Linked DNA regions of Homo sapiens: region 2 is linked to region 1. The links are contacts of gene promoters, found by promoter capture Hi-C in human tissues and cell types (Jung and others, 2019). All regions are on one chromosome and are shown on one strand. The core of a region is centred on a gene start or on the middle of the fragment in contact, and the rest is flanking DNA. Distances in the headings are between cores, read along the strand shown. Region 1 holds the start of RBBP6 (RB binding protein 6, ubiquitin ligase). Region 2 overlaps ZKSCAN2 (zinc finger with KRAB and SCAN domains 2).

Region 1 (3,782 bases), core at 36-2,535:
CCTTCTAGCTAGTATCTCTCTCCAGCCACCAAATATCTTAAGACCAAGCGGCCCTTACCTTCTTTCGTCTGCGCATTGGTGATCTGCAGGTCGCAGTCGGCAGCTTTCAGCTTCTCTCTCCCCATAATCTGCTTCTTTAAGTCGCAGAGGGAGATGTGGAGCCCATCAAAGGTGACGGTATCATAGTTGAGTTTAGAGGAAAATTTATAATGCACACAGGACATGGTGCCAAGGGATTCCTAAGGTTCAGCGAGGAGACGTGGACACTCTCAATATACGTATATTTATAAACTTTAAGAGCAAAATATGTACACACAAAACACTCAAAGACACCGAAGGACCCTAAGGCCTCAGATTAAATACCCCCCAACCACAAGCAGGGGTTCGTCAGAACAATAATCCAGAGACCCCCCGATACTCAGAATCACTTCATGGGGGAGGAGGAGGACGAGGACGGGGAAGAGGGGAAATCGAGAATCCGCCAACGGGCACAATGTCACCCGGCTGGGTCCCCCTCGCTCATGCTAAGGGGCCGGCAGAGACGGGGGGATTGGCGGTGCAGTCAGTAGCGGTCAGTCCACACGTTAAGAGTCCGAGCGACCCCACGGGGTCAGGGGTCCATAGCGCGGCCGCACCTCCCGGCGGGTCTCTCTCTCCGTGGATTGGGGTGACCCAGGCCCCGGGAGAAGGTTGAGGGGAGAGGGCCTAGGCCCGGAGTCCACGAGCGGCCTCACGCCTCCTCCTGGCTTCCGGACGACCGGCGTCAGCTTCCCCAGGCCCAGGCCCAGGCCCCCACCGCACACAAACCCCTGGCGCCTGCTCCCCGGAGGCCACGAGCGGCCCCACGGCCTAGGCCGAAAACGCGCGGTCGGCGGAGGAGAGGCCTTCCCGCAGGCCGCCCCCGGCTCCGCCTCCCCCCGCCGCCGCCGCCGCCTCGGACACAAAGCCGGCGCTAGGCCTCGGCGAGGCCTCGGAGCACTTCCTCACCACCCCGGGCCCCAGCCGGCGGCCGGGTGGCTTCGGCGGACCCCGGGGACACCGCCGAGGCTCCCTGACGCTTCTTCTCGCCGGATCCTCCGCGCTTCGCTCGCCTTTCGTTTCCGTCGCCTTGAGGCCCGGAACCGCGAGAACACGCCCGCAAGCTGCTGGGCAGCGGCTAGGGCTTCTCCGGCTCCCTTTTTGTGTTGGCCCCCTGCCGCTCGGGGGCTCTCACCGAGCGGCGGCGACACCTCCAAGCCAGGTACTATGGCGGACGCGGCCTGGCTTCGGACGAGCGCCCCACTGCGGGGTCTCTTAAGCAGGGATTGCACGGGCGGCGCGCGCGAGGCGGGGCTGGCGTGCGCGGATAGGCGGGCCGAGAGGCGGGGCGGCTGACGTCACAAAGCGCACGGCCCGCCCACGTGACCCCGCGCTTTGTGACTCCAAAGCGCGGAAACTGAAAGAGCAGGGACAACGGGAAGAACCATCTGCTTCAAAAGGGAGGGGGGTTGCGCGTCAGGAGGACCGGCTCACAGGGAGGCTCGGTGGGGAGAGCTCGCCTTGCAGGGGCTGCGTGCAGTTTCCACTGCAAAGTGGCTTGCCTAGGGGTGGCCGGCTAACTCCCCCTTCCCCACAGGCCCCGTCAGCTCCTCTAAGCCTCCCAATTTAAGTGAGCATTATGGTTGCTACGCAGAAAACTATGGTTGCTATGCAAGCGCTCCCTAGCTGCTGCTTCCAATAAACTGGCTACCCTATACTCTTGACAAGTGGAAATCGTGGAGCAGCCGCTGCCAAGAACTGATAACAGCCACCAGCACCATACAGATTTATTGAGCTCTTACTATGTGCTAGGCACAGGGCTGATCGCATAACAACATTGCCAGGCTCAGCAGCCACGTTGTCTGGGTTGGATCCCTGGCTGTGGGGGCTCTAGATTTAACCCCTCTGTGCCTGGGTCTCCTTGGCTGTAAAATGCCATTAAAAATAGTACTTGGTTTACTTGGATTAAATAAATGCACATAAATCCATAGTCTAAGACCATGCCGGTGCATTGACGTGGCTCAATGCACCGAAATATTAATAGCTGTAGCTCAATAAATGTCAATTTAACAACAAAAACCCTACGTGGTCAACATGACATTATTTCCGATTTATAGATGATGGAACTGAAGCTAGCAATCATGTACTTTCTGAATTTGCAGAAGGGGATGCCTGCTCAGTGGCAGGGTCCCGATTCCATTCCTAAGCGCAAATGCCAGGAACAGTGACAAGAACCCCCTCAGTAGATTGGAATTTTTTTTTTCCTTTGGGCATGGGGACGTTATTACATTCAGAAAAAATCATAATATAATAAAATTACATTCATAAACGATAGTTATTATCGTTTACAATCCATGTTCCTCATCCTCTCTGAATTTTACAGGCTAGGCTCAGTGAATTTAGGCAACTGAGAATAAGATCCTATAGCCGAGAAGTAGCAGAGTTTCCCAGGGACTTCCTGCAAGCACACTCCAAATTCTTACTGAACTTGATTTAAAATTAATCACCATCCTGCCAGAAAAGCCTTCCTAAGGCCATCTTTTTAAAATAAGATGGCGATCTTTCTCTATCCCTTTAGTCTTTTCTTCCTAGCACTTGCAGATAGTTGACAGTTACACATTTACTTTTTAATTATCTATCTCCCCCAACCCCTACCTTCGGCTGACAATAGGAATCTTATCTTTATATTTGTTTTTGCTGTATCCTCAGCTCTTAGAACATAGTAGGTGCTCAATAAATACGTGCTGAATAACTGGATACATTTTTACGTGATCCATAGAGATGTCGTGGCAATAAAATTTTGGCCGTAGTCAAGGGCAGCTCTAGAGATACCATTACAATTTAACTCAACCACACACATCAGTACTTTTCATATATAACAAGTTTCTTCCACTTTTACCTCTTTGTTATTTCACCAAAAACTTATTGCTGCCAGGTCCTCTTCAGGTTGGTTGCTTTTTTCTTAAAAGCCTCTGTGTGAATGAAAGGGCGAGGGCTATCTCTAGTGAAAGAAAAACTCGACGAGAAAATTGCAAGCCGTCATGGAATTCACTCCGAAGCGGTGAATCTGTTCCTTTTGCCCGTCTGTGGCCGACCCCTTTATATACTGAATGCCTAATTTAATCAGCGTGGTGCATCATGGGATCTCAAAGTGGGCCACACCCTCAGGATATGACAGAGTGGATCATAACCTAATCTGCAGGGGGGGATGTCCTTGGAAAGAATGTTGTCTATTGGTCCAACCGTTCTCATCTGCCAAAAACTTTGTTCAACCTTGATATTCTCACTTACAGAGGCCTCACTTCATATCACATCAAACAGGTCAAAATGCATTCACCACCTGCAATAAGCCTATGACTTGAGTTGCCTGACTAATTGACACAATGCTACATTTGGTCCATTTCACTGAATTCCTTTACTAATCTTCATTTTGCAGTTTTCTTTTTTTAAAAAAAAAACTTTTTATTTTCTTTTTTCTTCAGTGAGCTGAATTGTAAATTTTGCCGTTTTCTTTGGGTAATATGGAGCTGGTCTCCCTGACGCTTCTCTCCCTACCAATATTTTTGTAAGCCCTGAAAAAGCCTTTTGTACTATCCTACAGTGAATGAAGCATTCCTGTCTAAGCTTCTCATAATGTAACAATTCTGGAGCTCCCATGTCCCAGGATTTCAAACCTTTGTCATTCTCAAACCCAGTATAGCCTCATACCATTGACCATAGACAGTTAGTAAACCCCTTAACTTATTTTCTTATGTCAAAATTCA
Region 2 (3,942 bases), core at 956-3,455, 710 kb before region 1:
CCCCATCTTCCCTCCTCCTCCCCCAGCTTCTGGTAACCATCTTCTACTCTCTACTTCTATGAGTTGGACATTTTTAGATACTGCCAAAAAAGTGAGGTCATGTGATATATGTCTTTTCTGTGCCTGGCTTACCTTAGTTAACATAATGTTCTCCATGTTCGTCCATGTTGTTGCAAAAGGCAGAATTTTCTTCTTTTTTAAGGCAGAATAATATTCCTTTGTGTATATAGACCACATTTTCTTTATCCATTCAGCCTCCTGGTTGCTTCCGTATCTTAGCTGTATGTGAATAATGCTGCAGTGAACATGGTAGTGCCTCTTTGGCCTACTGATTTTAATATTTTTGCATATATACCCAGTAGCAGGATTGCTGGATCATATGGTAATTCTATTTTTAGTTCTCTATGGAACCTCTGTACTGTTTTCCATAATGACTCTTCCCAATTCACAGCTCTGCCAACAGTATTCAGAGGTTTCATTTTCTTCTCACCAACACTTCTTATTTTTGTCTCATTGATGATAGCCATTCTGAAAGGTATGAAATGATACCTCATTGTGGCTTTGATTTGCATTTCCCTGATGATTAGCAATGTTGAGCACCTTTTCATGTACCTATCTGCCATTTGTATGTCTTCTTTGGGAAGATGTCCATTCATATCCTTGGCTTATTTTTTAATGAGATTATTTGTTTGGTTTGTTGTTATTTTGCTATTGAATTGTAGGAGTTCCTTGTATATTTTAGTTATTGACCCCTTAGCAGATGAGTGGTTTGCAAATCTTTTTTTCTATTCCATAGATTTTTTCATCACTTTGTTGACTGTTTTTGTTGTTGTTTTGGATTAGATTTTTTTTTTTTTTTTTTTTTTTTTGCTGTATAGAAGCTTTGTAGTTTGATGTAGTCCCACTCATTTATTTTTACTTTCATTGCCTGTGCTTTGATGTCATATCCAAAAAAATTATTGCCCAGACCAGTGTCAAGGAGCTTTGTCCCCTGTGTTTTCTTCTAGGAGATTTATGGTTTCAGGTCTTATATTTAAGGCTTAATCCATTTTGAGTTCATTTTTGTGAGTCGTGTAAGACAGGGGTCCAGTTTCACTCTTTTGTATCTGGATATCCAGTTTTCCGAGCACCATTTGTTGAAAAGATGATCTTTTCCCAGTGATGTGTTCTTGGCACTCTGTCAAAGATTATTTAGCTATACATGTGTGGACTTCCTTCTATGCTCTCTATTCTGTTCTACTGGTCTTTGTGTCTGTTTTCATACCAGTACCATACTGTTTTGATTACTGTGGCTTTGTAATATAGTTTAACAAAAAATTCTTGGCTTCTTTTCTCTTATAGTCCCAGTGCCTATATATGTATGTATGTTATGTATGTTGGGGTGGGCATGGAGGGGAATGTGGGGAAAAGATACACTTTATTTTACAAGTAACAAATACTGAGTAGGAGCATACCCTGAACCTAACACAACACTGGCTACTGAGAGAGAATCAAAGGTTAAAAATATATATTCTTACCCTTAAAGGTTTTCCTGTAAGAACTAGCTAGGAAAAGAAATGGTACATATATGAGAAGTAAAATGATCGTGTAAGTTAGTAGATGTTTGTACCAAGGAAGTCATGTAAAAATAAATGTGCAGTGTCACAGCTGAGGAAGGTTTGGGTGTGAACAAGTGGCCCAGGAGAGCATGTGACAGCAGAAGATTGAGGCATGCAGTAATGACTTCTATGTCTACCATGAAATATGTTTATTTTACTGTAGGAAGTGCAGTGTCTACATCTAACAAGATAACCCGGTTGGAACAGAGAAAGGAGCCATGGACTCTAGGTCTGCATTCCTCTAACAAGAGAAGTATCCTACGAAGCAACTACGTCAAGGAAAAGTCAGTTCATGCTATTCAGGTCCCTGCAAGGAGTGCAGGAAAAACATGGAGAGAGCAGCAGCAGTGGGGTTTAGAAGATGAAAAGATAGCAGGTGTGCATTGGAGCTATGAGGAAACAAAGACTTTCCTGGCAATTCTCAAAGAGTCTCGCTTTTATGAAACACTTCAGGCCTGTCCCCGAAATAGCCAAGTGTATGGTGCTGTGGCTGAATGGTTGCGAGAATGTGGCTTCCTTAGAACCCCAGAACAGTGTCGAACCAAGTTCAAAAGTCTCCAGAAAAGCTATCGAAAGGTGAGAAATGGCCACATGCTAGAACCCTGCGCCTTCTTTGAGGACATGGATGCTTTGTTGAACCCTGCAGCCCGTGCTCCGTCCACTGATAAACCAAAGGAGATGATACCTGTCCCCAGACTGAAGAGAATTGCCATCAGTGCTAAGGAACACATCAGCTTGGTGGAGGAGGAGGAAGCTGCAGAAGATTCTGATGATGATGAAATAGGCATCGAATTTATCCGCAAGTCTGAAATCCATGGTGCCCCTGTCTTGTTTCAGAATCTCAGTGGTAAGAATTGTGCTTTGTTTCTCTGGTAGGAAAACAGATGTGTGATCTTGTGGAAAAAGGAGTAGACCAGAAGTGGCCAAACCCGGGGGGTGCTGTCACACACACCTCACCACTTTCACTGTGGTGTGGCCACATCACTGAAGTACTCTCAGGTGCTTGCTGCTGCCCCCATTGCAGTCAGAGTAACAGCTCCAAGTGGCCGTGGAGAAGTCGTTTTCACTTTAGAGCACAGCATGGATTTTGAGTGTTTGGGTCCTTGTGGAAGGAAGACAAATGGAGTTACAGGGTTCTAAGGATCTTGTATTATCTGATAATTGGCATAAAGCAATCAATTGTATTGCATTATAAGTCAAGCATGCATTATTACGTTATCTAAAATAACCAGTACAAAATTTTGTAACAGTTTCAACAGGTTTTCATTAAAAATAAAATAAACATTTTTTGTGTAATCTAAAAGAAGACAAAGGAGAGAAAAAAGAATACAAAATAGATGAGTCAGATGGAAAAAAATAAGATATAAATCCAAATATATAATTAATTACAAACTTAAAGAACTAAGATTATCAGACATTAATTGCTTATAAGAGATCCACCTTAAATATAATACAGAGACATTAAAATTAAAAAGGCAGACAGATACACCATGCAAAAGAGAGCTGGTGTTAAATATTTTGTGACTGAGACATGCAGAATTAAATCGCCAATTAATAACTGTGTGACAGTAGACACATCACGTAACTACTTTGAGCTTCAATTTTCTCATCCGTAAAATATGGCTAAGAATACCTCATAGGGTTGTTATTAGTGTTAAATAGGATAATATAAATGAAGGCACTGTGAAAATGCTAAAATATAATACAGCATTGCCTGGTATCACTGTTATTAGTAATGTTTCTTTACTCCAGCTAGAGATAAATTCTTTTTTTTTTTTTTTTCCGAGACGGTGTCTCACTCTGTCACCCAGGCTGGAGTGCAGTGGCGCAATCTCGGCTCACTGCAACCTCCTCCTCCTGGGTGAGTTCAAGCAATTCTCCTGCCTCAGCCTCCTAAGTAGCTGGGATTACAGGCACCCACCACCACGCCTGGCTAATTTTTATATTTTTAGTAGAGACAGGGTTTCACCATGTTGGTCAGGCTGGTCTCAAACTCCCAACCTCAAATGATCCACCCACCTCGGCCTCCCAAAGTGCTGGGATTACAGGCATGAGCCACCGCACCCAGCCTATAAATTCTTACATAGAATGGAAAACTAAATCAGGCTAGGGAATGTATCCATGACTAAACCCATTCAAAAGAAATATCTGGCTGGATGTGGTGGTTCATACCTGTAATTCTAGCACTTTAGGAGACTGAGATGGGAGGATCCCTTGAGGCCAGGAGTTTGAGAGCAGCTGGGCAACACAGCGAGACTCCGTCTTTACAAAAAATAAAACAATTAGCCAGGCATGGTGGCACACTCCTGTAGTCCCAGCTACTCAGGAGGCTGAAGCGAGAGGG

What was found. Contacts are between HindIII fragments. The study calls those that stand out against the background at their distance.
Region 2: a fragment that was not itself captured here is called in contact with the fragment with the promoter of RBBP6 in region 1 in 1 of the 25 tissues and cell types used here (IMR-90 fibroblasts).

Annotation. Positions count from the first base shown.
Region 1 is chr16:24,537,069-24,540,850 of GRCh38, reverse strand. RBBP6 (RB binding protein 6, ubiquitin ligase) reads right to left here and starts at 1,285. Exons shown (of 18, transcript NM_006910.5): 1 at 59-1,285. The coding sequence starts at 224. RefSeq lists enhancers at 1-627, 628-1,622, 3,049-3,343 and silencers at 839-1,018, 1,289-1,338. The HindIII fragment of the contact is 6,685 bases long and covers 1-3,782 here.
Region 2 is chr16:25,245,210-25,249,151 of GRCh38, reverse strand. It overlaps ZKSCAN2 (zinc finger with KRAB and SCAN domains 2), which reads left to right. Exons shown (of 7, transcript NM_001012981.5): 5 at 1,762-2,445. Among named protein-coding and RNA genes, the nearest start is that of ZKSCAN2-DT, 10 kb to the left of the region's middle. The HindIII fragment of the contact is 4,882 bases long and covers 1-3,942 here.